Linked DNA regions of Homo sapiens: all the other regions are linked to region 3. Evidence: promoter capture Hi-C in human tissues and cell types (Jung and others, 2019). All regions are on one chromosome and are shown on one strand. Each heading gives the region's core, a stretch centred on a gene start or on the middle of the fragment in contact. The rest is flanking DNA. Distances are from core to core; before and after follow the strand shown.

Region 1 (3,840 bases), core at 144-2,643, 330 kb after region 3:
CCCGGCCGGGGTAGGCCCGGCTCAGCCCGGCCCCGGGACCGCCGCTGCCCACGGGCGGGGGCGCCCGGGCGGCCGGGACGATGCGCGGTCCCTGGCCCCAGGAGGCGGCCGCCCTGGGGGTGAGTGTTGGGGCGTACGGCCTTCCGTGGGGGTGCATGGGGACACGGACAGGGGGTTTGCCTGCCGCAGCTCGGCCTGTTGGTCTGCTCGGGCTCCGCAGCTCCAGGCTGGAGGGGAGCGGGGTGGGAGGCAGGCAAGGGCTGAGGCCTGAGGGGACGCGCAATCCCCATTCTGGGGCTAAGGCGTGAGCCCTACATGCAGGGGGTGCTCAGGGGAACCCCCCGAAATCACTAGTGCGCGGTAGGAGGATGGCACCTTTTGAAAAGGCCAGAAAATTTAGCTCATTTCCCCGCCTCCCACCTCCCCCACCCCTTCCCTTCCAAGCCCGGGGAAAGGCGCAGAACCCGGAGTTATAAAAAGCCATCGCGGGAGAGGAACGAGGAGGAGGAGTAGGAGGAGGAGGAGGAGGAGGAGGAAGAGGAGGAGGAGGGGGAGAAGGAAGAGGAGGGGGAGGAGAAGGAGGAGAAGGGGGCGGGGAAGGAGCGAGGGGAGGACGGAGCAGGCGGATCCCGAGGACTCTGCCCGCCCCTCCTGCGGTAGGGTTGGGGGCTCAGAGGGAGAGGCGAGAGCGGGCTTTTCCTCCTCGCGGCTCACCTTGTCGCTGGAGCAATCTCAGGAGATGCTCCAGTGTTTGGGAAGAGGGGTCGCTCCAGGACAGAGGGGCTGTTGTGCACACCCCGTCTGTTGTGACCTCGGACAGGTGGGCACCTGGAACCCCCGGAATTCCCCCAAATCTTTTAAGATTTGGAAAAAAGCCCGCTGCCATTCCCCCACCCCCAAAATCTTGATTATCTCGAGAAGGGGAAGGAAAAGAAGAGAACTCGTTAAAAAAAAAAAAAAGAAGGAAAGAAGAAGAAGAAAGAAAGAAAAAGATAAAGAAAGAAAGTTTTCATGCAGCTCCCCCTCTCTCCCCATGGCGGGGCCAGGTTCGGGACTCGATCGGGAGACCCATAATGAAGAGAGTTTCAGCACTCTAAGGGGCGGACAGCGCCCCGGGCGGCTGGGTCGCGCCTGGGCCGCAGAAGCCCAGGGTGGGGCCTCCCGGGCTCCAGGGGCATCTCTTGGGGCCCTCTCCCCGCCCCGAGGGGCGGCCCCTCCCTCCATCCATGGGGTGCGGCGGACTTCAGCACCGGCGGGAGGGACAGCGACCATCCGTCCTACCCCACTGAGCCGCTTAAGCGCGGGGGAAGGTCAAGGCCGGCTGGGAGCCTGGTGGAGAGGTGGGGGGCGGGGGGACAGCATGCCCAGCTCCCCGTTTGCTGACCCGCGTCCGCTTTCGCTTTCTGCCTCGCAGCCGTCGGGATGGAGGTGAGAAGACGGCCGTGACGCGCGCCCGCGGGGCCCCCTGCACCCCCAGCAGCCCACAGCGCTCCCTGCCCCCCTCCCCCGCAGCAGCGGGCCTTGCCGTCGAGTGACAGCGGCCTGGGGGGGCAGGGGGGGCGGGGGCGGCCGGATCAGCGATGCCGGCGGGCATGACGAAGCATGGCTCCCGCTCCACCAGCTCGCTGCCGCCCGAGCCCATGGAGATCGTGCGCAGCAAGGCGTGCTCTCGGCGGGTCCGCCTCAACGTCGGGGGGCTGGCGCACGAGGTACTCTGGCGTACCCTGGACCGCCTGCCCCGCACGCGGCTGGGCAAGCTCCGCGACTGCAACACGCACGACTCGCTGCTCGAGGTGTGCGATGACTACAGCCTCGACGACAACGAGTACTTCTTTGACCGCCACCCGGGCGCCTTCACCTCCATCCTCAACTTCTACCGCACTGGGCGACTGCACATGATGGAGGAGATGTGCGCGCTCAGCTTCAGCCAAGAGCTCGACTACTGGGGCATCGACGAGATCTACCTGGAGTCCTGCTGCCAGGCCCGCTACCACCAGAAGAAAGAGCAGATGAACGAGGAGCTCAAGCGTGAGGCCGAGACCCTACGGGAGCGGGAAGGCGAGGAGTTCGATAACACGTGCTGCGCAGAGAAGAGGAAAAAACTCTGGGACCTACTGGAGAAGCCCAATTCCTCTGTGGCTGCCAAGGTGAGTCTGGGATCTGGGGGCTGCTGGTCTGGGGGGATCTGCTTGCATCCCCATATTGAGGACCACTGCTGGAGGACTCTGGCTTTGTTCCCAACGATGAAGATTAGTAATGGGGAGGGGCTAGGACTGAGTCCCCAGAGGTGAGGACCAACCCCCTCAGACTTTTCCCATGTGGCACTGGTCACTCCATCTTTTTATTATCCAAGACGTTATACCCCTACTTGGTTGGAGAGGTTTCACAGGGACCCATAAAAAGCCACAGCAAGAAGATGGACACTGACGAATAAGAGAGAGAGCACAGAGAGACAACAGTGGCTTGCTGGGGTGGAGTAGGGTTTGCTTCCCTGTGAAGTCCCAGACCTAGGCTGGATTGGATCACCCTGTGATTTTAATATCTCCATATTTATAACCTCACTCTGCCCCAGCAAGGGAAAAAAGCAGCTTACAGACATGCTTACAGGACATTGAGATACTGTCAGATAGTTTAAACATAAGTAAGAAGGGACCCCGAGGGGTGGGTGTGGACCCACACGACACATGCAGTTGGTTGTGGATGCTTGCGGGTGAGGGGTCACCCCCTGGTTACTTATTTATTTGGTGAGTTTATTTCCAGAATGGTTTGGTGCAGCTTGTAAAGATGTTTCAGCTCTTGGAACAAGATGTAAATTTCAAAATAGGAGAGAAAAATGAGGCAATGTGAAAAATAAAGGAGGAGGAGGAGGAGGAGGCAGGAATGAGTTTGAACACAAAGAGTGGGCCAGAGAGTCTTTGGTGCTGCTGGGTAATGGCAGGGGCTGTAGGGGACTGAGGAAGGCTTGGGGTGGGAGCCAAGGCAGGGCAGGAGGGCACTGGTTGATCAGCAACTTCTCTACGTCAGGCTGGGATTTGGGGTTGCCTGGGAAAGATGGGGCCTGTCTTCATGTGCCCGAAGTGCTGGGTGCTGGGAGCAAATGACAAAACAGTGTGTGCAAGGCTATAAAAGAGGTTCTGTGAGGTTCACGGAGAACCCAGAAAAGAGAGATGTTGATGTTGAAATCCAGCAAGACCAACTTGGGAAACATGGGGAGAATGTAACTGAGTGTGGGGCCTAAAAAAAGGGGTCAGGTAAGTAGATTTGTGGTAAAAGAAAGAGGAGAGGAGGAAGCCTAAATATCCAGCCATATCTTACTAGCTAGGGCTGACTCCTGTCCAGCCCAGCCTTTCATTGTGGGGTCTCCGGCTCAGTTCTCACTGAAGGCCCACCTGCAGGTCCCAGTCTGAAGGGAGACTCCGTGGGGTCCTTCCTCCAGATCTAGCCACCCAAGGAGAGGCCCCTGAGAGTGGATGGAGAAGGGGTGGCTGGTAAGAGGGTGGAGGGAGCCCCCACGTGTTTTTTTCGTTTCCCTGTTGGCCCTAACAAGGATGTAGAGGCTCCTGGGCCTGGCTTCCTCCTCTGAGGCTGTGGGCTGTCTCTCTCCATAATCCCGCCCCCAATTTTGTGTCCAAAAAGCCTCCTCCTAAGACAGAGTCACTCACCCTTAATCAGCTTAGGATCAACAGACTTATTTTGCTATTTCCAGGCATGACACAGGTTCTCCCACTGCACATCCCATTTAGGCCCAAATGTGACTCTCCCTCCCTGTCCCATCCCTAAGACATGAGAACAAGGTACAGGGAACTGGACAATTTGCCCTCCCAGAGAAGAAGCAGGCAC
Region 2 (4,150 bases), core at 498-2,997, 490 kb after region 3:
TTTGTGTCACTGAAAGTGTTCACAATGTGGCTAAAAAACCTGGCAGGAAGACTGCAGACCAGATTCAGGCACTGGCTGGACAGCTGGACCAAGGGGTATCCCCAAAGTCCACCACGATCTCCTGCCCTGCCTGCCAGGCAGGTGAGAGATTTTGCGGAAAATTAGGCAGGCACCACCCTGCACGTGTTCTACCCGTCTCACTGGCAGCACGCACACAAGAGGGAACCATCATCACCCCTCGCATAGGCCCAGGATCACAAACTCAGTACATCTGTGGTTATTCTCGTAGTGTCTGCCTCCTCCATTAGAGTGTCAGCTCCACAACAATAGGGTCCTCATTTGTCATGTTCCCTGCTGTATCCCATCACCAAGCACAGGGCCTGGCACACAGCAACTCAGGAAGTGATGTGCCACTGAACAATGAGTGAGCAAATCTTGCCTTAGCAACAACAAAGGAAATATAACCACAGGCTGACATTGCAAAAAGGCAACACCAGATAGCAGTGTTTCTCAAAGCAAAGCCCAGCCCACTTTTCCTGACCAAAGAAGAAATTCTAGCTTCCCAGCCTTACAGAAAGGGGTAGGGCGGTGGTAAGGCTGCTCACTGAGTCCTGGATACCCAGATGACATCGTGCCAGCTGAGCCTGCCATGGCCAGACCACATTTCCCACAGACCCCTTAGAATCGCTTCACCCCACCCTTACAGGCCCAGGCTCATGAAGGAACACCTTTTTTTTTTTTTTTTTTTTTTTTTAAGATGGAGTCTCTCTCTGTCGCCCAGGCTGGAGTGCAGTGGCACCATCTCGGCTCCCTGCAACCTCCGCCTCCCAGGTTCAAACGATCCTCCTGCCTCAGCCTCCGGAGTAGCTGGGACTATAGGCACGTGCCACCACACCCAGCTAATTTTTGTATTTTTAGTAGAGACAGGGTTTCACTATGTTGGCCAGGCTGGTCTCAAACTCCTGACCTTGTGATCCACCCACCTCAGCCTCTCAAAATGCTGGCATGAGCCACGGGGCCCAGCCAAGGAATGTCTTTCTGCATTATCCAAACCCCGCTTTCTCCTCTGAACCACACTGCCCAGCCTCCTTACCATCTGCCCTCCTTATTGTCTACCAAAAGGATTTTCTAGAATACAGTTCTGGCCTGTTCCCTGAAATCCCTCAGTGGTTCCCATCTCCTATTGAGGGGGTTCACGAAGGATCTTTTTTGACAGTGGATCATAGATGGAGACCCCCAAGCTCAGTGGCTAAAAATCTACATTTTCCTGCAACTCATCCACAGTCATTTACCGTGCCCTCCTCCTATTCAACATCTCAGCACACTTTACCCAAAGTTTCCCAAAGCACGTGGTCTCCCACAGCTGAGTAGTACCCTCCCAGCCTCCTTTCCCCCATCTTCTGGGAATACCACCTCAGTTTTCTTCTGAGAAACCAAAACTCCCCACTCTCAATCCACATGGTTTGGACAGGGCTGATCGCACCCTCTCGTTCCTGGTATGAGGCAGGTGACCCCCACATGGCCAGTTGATATATTCCTTCTCCCTGGGTTCAGTGATTGATTGGGTCAGCAATGACCATTTAATCCAAACTGAGCCCATGAGAACCAGCCCTGGGATTTTGGCTGGAACTGGGGAAAAATGCTCTCAATCCATTAAGGATGGCAGTTTACAGCTACTGTCTTTGACCACTAGCTTTGCTACCACTTGGTGACAGCATGCCTGTAAATGAAGTTAACACAAGAAAAGCCGAAGAATGGAAAGAGATAGAGTCCTGATGACATCCTTGGAGCCCCTGGATCCAGTCATGCCTGAAGCTCTGGAATCCCTGGGTTGTTCTTTAGTTACCTAAGCCAATAAATATCCTTGTTAACTTAAGTTAAATTGTGTCACAACCCTAAGAGTACTAAGTCTACAGGAAACACATAAGTGTATATGTAGGGACATCAACCATACAGGGTTGAGATGATATTTAAGAAGTATAGAATACATGGAAACATTCTGTAAATAACTTGGAAAATACAGTGGTGTCTATCTTTCAAGGCCTTACTAATCACTCCAGCCCCACTCTCTCCCTGCCTCCACACCATCCTCACCAATCATTTCCAAGCTTCACCTTGCTCAGACTGAAATTATTTATTCCTTTCCCAACTACCTTGTCTCCCAAAAATAGACAATAAGCTTGAGGGGTACCAGAACTCCAGCCTTGCTTCCATCCCCCAGTGCTTCTAGCTGAATTGGGCACACAGAAGGTGGCCACCAATTGTAATTGAGGCTGGGTGTGGAGGCTCACACTGGTAATTCCAGCACTTTGGGAGGCCAAGGCTGGAGGATAGCTTGAGCCCAGGAGTTTGAGACCAGCCTGGAAAAGATGGTAAAACTCCATCTCTACAAAAAATACAAAAAAAAAAAAAAAAAAAAAAAAAAAAAGCTGGGTGTGGTGGCCCACACCTGTAGTCCCAGCTACTCAGGAGACTGAGGTAGGAGGATCACTTGAGCCTGGGAGGCAGAGGTTGCAGTGAGCCATGATTGCACCACTGCACTCCAGCCTGGGTGACACAGTGAAACCCTGAAAAATAAAAAGAAAGGAAGGAAGAAAGAGAGAGAGAAAAAGAAAAGAAAAGAGAGAAGGAAGGAAAGAAAGAAAAAGAAAAAAAAAGAAAATTTTAATTGAACTAAATGGGGAAGATGTCAAGGGGTCTCCTTACACCTGTAGACTCAAGCTTCCCTCTCCTAACATTCTTGAGTCTCTGCCACCCTTGAGCTGCTATACAATATTGAGATCTGGAGTCAGACTGCTGGAGTGCAAATCCCAGATCTGCTGTTTAAGAGCTGTGCAACCCAGAACACGTCACTTAACCTCTCTGTGCCTTAGTTCCTCATCTGTAAAACAGACATGATAACACTGTTCCATAGCGTTATTATGAGGCTTAAATGAGACAATTTACTTCAAGCACTTAAAATAGTACCTTCCTGACATTTGGTATTTCATAAATATTAGATTTGTTGTTTGCGGATTTTGTTTGTTTTTTAAGTCATCTTCAACATCTCCCTCTATTACAATTGATCACTTAAGGCAGTTGACTTTATCTCCTAAAAATAGCCCATGAAAAAAGCAAATACTTCTCTACATCTTTTGCCTCCTAACTAGTCCCCTCCTGCCTGCTCCCCTGGGAGGTGGAAAGTGAACTTTTCCCTGCGTCTCTTCACAAGACCCTGCTCCAGATAAGGAGGCAGATCCCAAAAGAGCAAAACAAAGGTGAAAGCAAAGCTTTGAGGCTCCTGGTTCCTCCAGCCCCCACTCCGTATAGAAAGGACATCTCTTGGGAGGGGCTAACATTGTGTGATTCTGTGGGTGTCGGTCAGACCATGAGAAAGTATCACTGATGCCTTTGCCTGGACCCATCCTGGGCCCCCACTCCTGCGCTGTGGCAGGGGAGCCCCTGTTGGTGGTGCTAACCTGGGACTTCAGCTCCAATCAGTACAGACCCGCGGCTGCATGAACTCTCTACACAGAAAACCAACCAGTACAAAAGCACCCCCAGGCAGTCCTTCCCCAAATTTAATCTGGAAGGAGTTCTCTTTTGCCTATGGCTTGAGAAGACACCACATCCAAAATTACTTTCTCATCTCACTGCTGCCTGAATTTCCAACGTTGGCCACTCCTGGCAGCAAGGAGCTAGAAGACTCAGAATCAGACCCAGCTCCTCCACTGGCTGGGAATTCTTGACTGCCCAAAGCCCTCTCCTCTCTGAGCCTTGCTTTTCTTGACTGCTAAACAGGGATGTTATTCCATACCTGAACCCCAGAGGGCAGGGAGAATGTATTCAGGTTCCAGGGGACATCCAGCCCAGCTTCTGGGCACAGAGGGATAGGTGATTAATGGATGTTAGGTCCCTTACATTTTTATTTATTTATTTATTTATTTATTTATTTTTGAGACATGATCTCGCTCTGTCACCCAGGCTGGAGTGCAGTGGCATAATCATAGCTCACTGCAGGCTCAACCTCCTGGGCTCAAGTGATTCTCCCACCTCAGTCTCCTGAGTAGCTGGTGCTACAGGCAGTCATCACCATTTGAGGCTAATTTTTTTTTAATTTTTTGTAGAGACTGGGTCTTCCAATATTGCCCAGGCTGGTCTCGAACTCCTG
Region 3 (4,159 bases), core at 1,024-3,523:
TTGCCAGGGGTCGGGAGCACCAGTTTCGTCGTGACAACCAGGGTGGTGTGGAGGGTGACATTGAAACCCTCATGAGTTGTATTGGGGAACCTCCTGGAGGACATAGAAAGCATAATTAGATAATGGAAAAGGGTCCCAAAACATCAATTCACACACCTCACACCAGAAAGAGAAGCTGTCCAAGAACTTTATGGGATTCAGAAGTCTTTAACAGGCAGGCCTTCGAGAGAAACTTACTAAGAAAATCCCTGCCTGCACAGCACAAGGGTACCAGTGGCCTCTGGTGCTTTTGAATACAGCCACTTAGAGGACAAGAACGGTAGGGAATCAGAGCTAGTATAGAAATGAAATGCTGCCTGCTCTTTGGCAAATACTGGGGGATTTAAAGGGAGGCAAACTGGAGTCTCATCACTTTCCAAGGTCCAACACTGTTTACTTAGCACCTTTGTTTCTCCAATTTACATTATTTTCCTGGCATTATTTCTGCAAGTTGAAGAAGCCACCTCAATTTGCCCAGTTGTTGATCTGGGCATGCCCTACCCTACTTTACAAAATCCCTCTCAGATTTCAAACGGCTCAAATGTCACCTCCTATTACCCCATCTTACCACACCCGAATTTACCCACTCCACTGCGTATGTTCCCACAGCTCTTTCACACTGTGCTGGGATTGTGAACTAGTACAATATTGCTATAATAACTGTTACTGTGACTACAAAAGTTATTATTTTCTGAGCACTGCTTTATTCCAGGAACTAGGTAACACACTACCTCTCATTTAATAGGTATAACATGTCTGATTGGGTATGATTACTTTCCGTTTTTTACTCATGCATAACTAAGGCTCAGGGAGGTTGCAAAACTTCACCAACATCTCAGTTAGTGGCAGAATCAAGCTGAAAACCCAAACTTGAAATCGCTGGGCTATATTGCCTCTTTTATTTTGTGCTGCTGAGGCTGTTTAGTGTCTGGGATGGAGCAGCTGCTCAATAAATAACTGATTACATGAAATGACCCCCACATGGCCAAGAAATATATTTGAAAAGTTATCAGGTGAAGGACTCCAGTATCAATGAAGGGGTTCCTTATTCATCTTCACATACTCATTCCACAAACAGTGATAGGGCATCTACAATCTGCAACAGACTCTGCCCTGCAGGTATGGAGATGACTTTTGGACTTGCCCAAAAGTACCTGGAGGACACAGCCCGTCCTTCCCCATCTCCCCTTGTCCAGCTAACCCCCTTCCTCTCTACACACCAGCCATGCTGCCTGTCACTCAAAAGCACTAAACTCTTTCTTGAGCCAGGCCTTTTGAACCTGATGTTATTTCTCCTATCCCTCATTCTGGTCATTCAAGTTTCTGCTGAATGTCACTTTTTCCTGAGTGGACTCCCCAACCTTAACTCTATTTTGCTTCCTTCAGAACACTTAACCCATTCATGCCAGAGGTTGCAATTTTTAGAACTGCAGACGTGAGAAAAATCAGACCTTGGCGATGACCTTGAGCAGTAGGATATAAATAACTCCCACATGCTTAGCGTTCCAATAATGGAACACTAGGCACAAATAACGTTAATTAATCACGATCTGAAACCACCTTGACTAATTATGGTCTTCTTTTCCCACTAGAATGGAAGCTCCCAGAGAGCGGCTCCTGGTCGGCCTCCTTTCCTACCACCTGCCCAGGGCCTGGAATTGAGTAGATGGCTAACAGTTAATGACTAAATGAAACTTAGTGAAGGAGAAAGACATGAAAACTGATCGTTATACAGGAGGCGACTGGCTACGTAGGAGGTGGGTGTGGAGAACCCGGACGACTTCCTGGAGGAGGCGGAAGAGGGCTCAGTAACCATGAGATTACCGAAAACTGGGAAAGTAAATATGGTTTGTATTTTCCGCAAGACAGCTCTCCGGGCCTGCGCTGGGCAGTAGATTCCCAGCTCGAGGGACCGATCTCCAGGGGAAAGCAAGGCCCACCTGGGCCCAGGCCCGCCCATCCCGCCCTCCTCGTAGGCACCGGCTTGGTCAGTCCTGGCCAACCAGCAAAAGAAGCTCCGCCTTCCGGGGCCGGAGGGCGGCCTGAGGCGCTCGCTGTCACCCGCCGGGGCCCAGCCCCGCCGCCTCCGCCGCCCGGGAAAAAGCCCACTCACTCCTCTTCCGCCATCTTCTCCCCCATCCTGCGGAGCTTCCAGGACCACCGAGTTCGGAGCCGCGGGGCTAGCAGGACCCGCTTTTGCTTCCGGCTTCCGCTGGAGGCGCGGGCGGGCGAGCGGGAGGCGGGGCCTCGGCCGCGCGAGGGCGGCCCTCTGTCCCTCCGTCTCAGTGGCCCGAGGGTGGGAGAAAGCGCGTGGGAGGATTGCTTCTTAGTCTCTCCCGGGGCTTTCGGGACGCTTGTCCGGCCTGGGCCACATGACCACCTGGGACCGAGAGATTCCGGCTTTTCCCCATCACAGGGCGGGGACGTTTTGGGGAAACTCCTCTGAGGTCACTGTGACTCACCCTGAGGGCAAGCAAGCACCCTCCACCCAGTGCCCTCGACTTCGCTGTGCTAAAAGAGTTTGAAAAAGGATGCCCAGCCTGCAGCCTAAGCGGAGAGACCCCAGGGGGACACTTCCCCACCCGAGCCTTAGTTTCCTTCGGCTGTGGAGAGGAATAACCGCCTGGACTTGGCAGGACTGTGCAGCATTCCATCTGTAAACATGTGTTGAGTTCAGACTATATGCCTAGCGTTAAAAAGGATGCTGATGATCTAGGGGTGGACCATTCATTAAGGGGTTCATTGATTCACCACATGCTTAGTAGATGCTTCTATGTGCCTAGCAGTGACCGGTGGGGTGGGGATGCAGGGAGGAACAAGGTGAGGTGAGAGGGGTAGGTGAGACCCCCATCGGGAGGACTGGGGCTGAGGACTTTGAACTTTATTGGCCGCTTCTGTTGCTACCTCCCTTCCTGATCCAAGGCACTCTATCTCATCTGGATAATTGCAACGGCTCCATTCAGGGTCTCTGACTCACCCCTGTTCCTTACGGACTTCCACACAGCAGCTTAACTCATCACTCCTCTGCTTAGACCCTCCAATGGCTTCCAATCTCCAGAGAAAAAAAAAACGTGGGGAATGTACAGGACTCAATCCTGCCCCCTTTTCCCCTCTGAAGTGTGTGGGAGGGGGGCATGGGGCTCTATATCTCCCCTCCCACACACTTTGACTTTCCACTATTGTCCCAGACTCACCAGGAATACTTCCACCGTTGCACTTACTGAGCCTTTATCTAGAATGCTCTTCTTCTGGGTAGCTCTTTGGCTCCCACCTCTCCTACGTTTGGCCTTTTATTTAACCCTTATCTTGTGTGTTAGACCTCCTTGACCACCCTACTTAAAATCCAAGGCCCCCCGCCTTCCCTAAACTATTTTTCCACATGACACCTAACCTACCATATGTTTTACTCATACACTTGTTTGTTAACCATCTCCCTCCATGAGAACGGAAGCTTCATGAATGCAGAAATTTTTGTCTGTTTTGTTCTCCATTTTATCTGCAATGCCTACAACAGTACCTGGCACATAGTAGACACTCAATAATAAATAATCATTGAGTAAATAAATCAGTTAATTCTAGCACACCTAGAAGGGTTTTGAACTGAGAAGTAACCTAAGCTTTGCTGCCTGTTGGGAGTTGACTGGGGATTGGCGAGAGAGAGAGGATGGAAGCCCCAAAGCCAGCAAGGAGGCTTTTGCAATAATCTAGGTGACAGCTGATGGCAGTCTGGATGAAAGTAATACGGTGGAGGTGGCAGGAATGGTTGGACTCCTGGACGCATACTGAAGACAAGGTTTGCTGACGGACTATGGCGTATAAAAGAGGAGTTAAGCATGGTGTCAGGGTTTTGGCCCCGAGGAACTGGGTAGAGAAGAAATCTGGCTCTAACCTTGGGTTCTCCATCCTCTGCAGTCTCTTAAGACTGCTAAAGCTGACTGAGAGAATGTCATCAGGATCCACCAATGTTTATTGAGTAATAATAAACTTGCTTCCTTCCTGCAGGTGTGGTGTTGGGCTATTGTTTCCTTAATTCTTTACATAGCTTTGAGGTAGATACCATCATTATCCACAGACATAGAGAAATCAAGGCACTTGCCTGCGGTCCCACAGCTAGCAAATG

Evidence for each region. Contacts are between HindIII fragments. The study calls those that stand out against the background at their distance.
Region 1: a contact is called between the fragment with the promoter of KCNB1 here and the fragment with the promoter of SLC9A8 in region 3, in 4 of the 25 tissues and cell types used here (IMR-90 fibroblasts, aorta, liver and 1 more).
Region 2: a fragment that was not itself captured here is called in contact with the fragment with the promoter of SLC9A8 in region 3 in 4 of the 25 tissues and cell types used here (aorta, hippocampus, lymphoblastoid cells and 1 more).

The regions. Positions count from the first base shown.
Region 1 is chr20:49,480,221-49,484,060 of GRCh38, reverse strand. KCNB1 (potassium voltage-gated channel subfamily B member 1) reads left to right here and starts at 1,393. Exons shown (of 2, transcript NM_004975.4): 1 at 1,393-2,147. The coding sequence starts at 1,581. The HindIII fragment of the contact is 16,129 bases long and covers 1-3,840 here.
Region 2 is chr20:49,320,224-49,324,373 of GRCh38, reverse strand. No RefSeq gene overlaps it. Among named protein-coding and RNA genes, the nearest start is that of SNORD12, 42 kb to the right of the region's middle. RefSeq lists enhancers at 1-144, 145-646. The HindIII fragment of the contact is 6,734 bases long and covers 1-4,150 here.
Region 3 is chr20:49,810,942-49,815,100 of GRCh38, reverse strand. SLC9A8 (solute carrier family 9 member A8) reads right to left here and starts at 2,273. Exons shown (of 16, transcript NM_015266.3): 1 at 2,153-2,273; 2 at 1-93. The coding sequence starts at 2,178. RefSeq lists a silencer at 2,025-2,304 and an enhancer at 2,455-2,594. The HindIII fragment of the contact is 14,619 bases long and covers 1-4,159 here.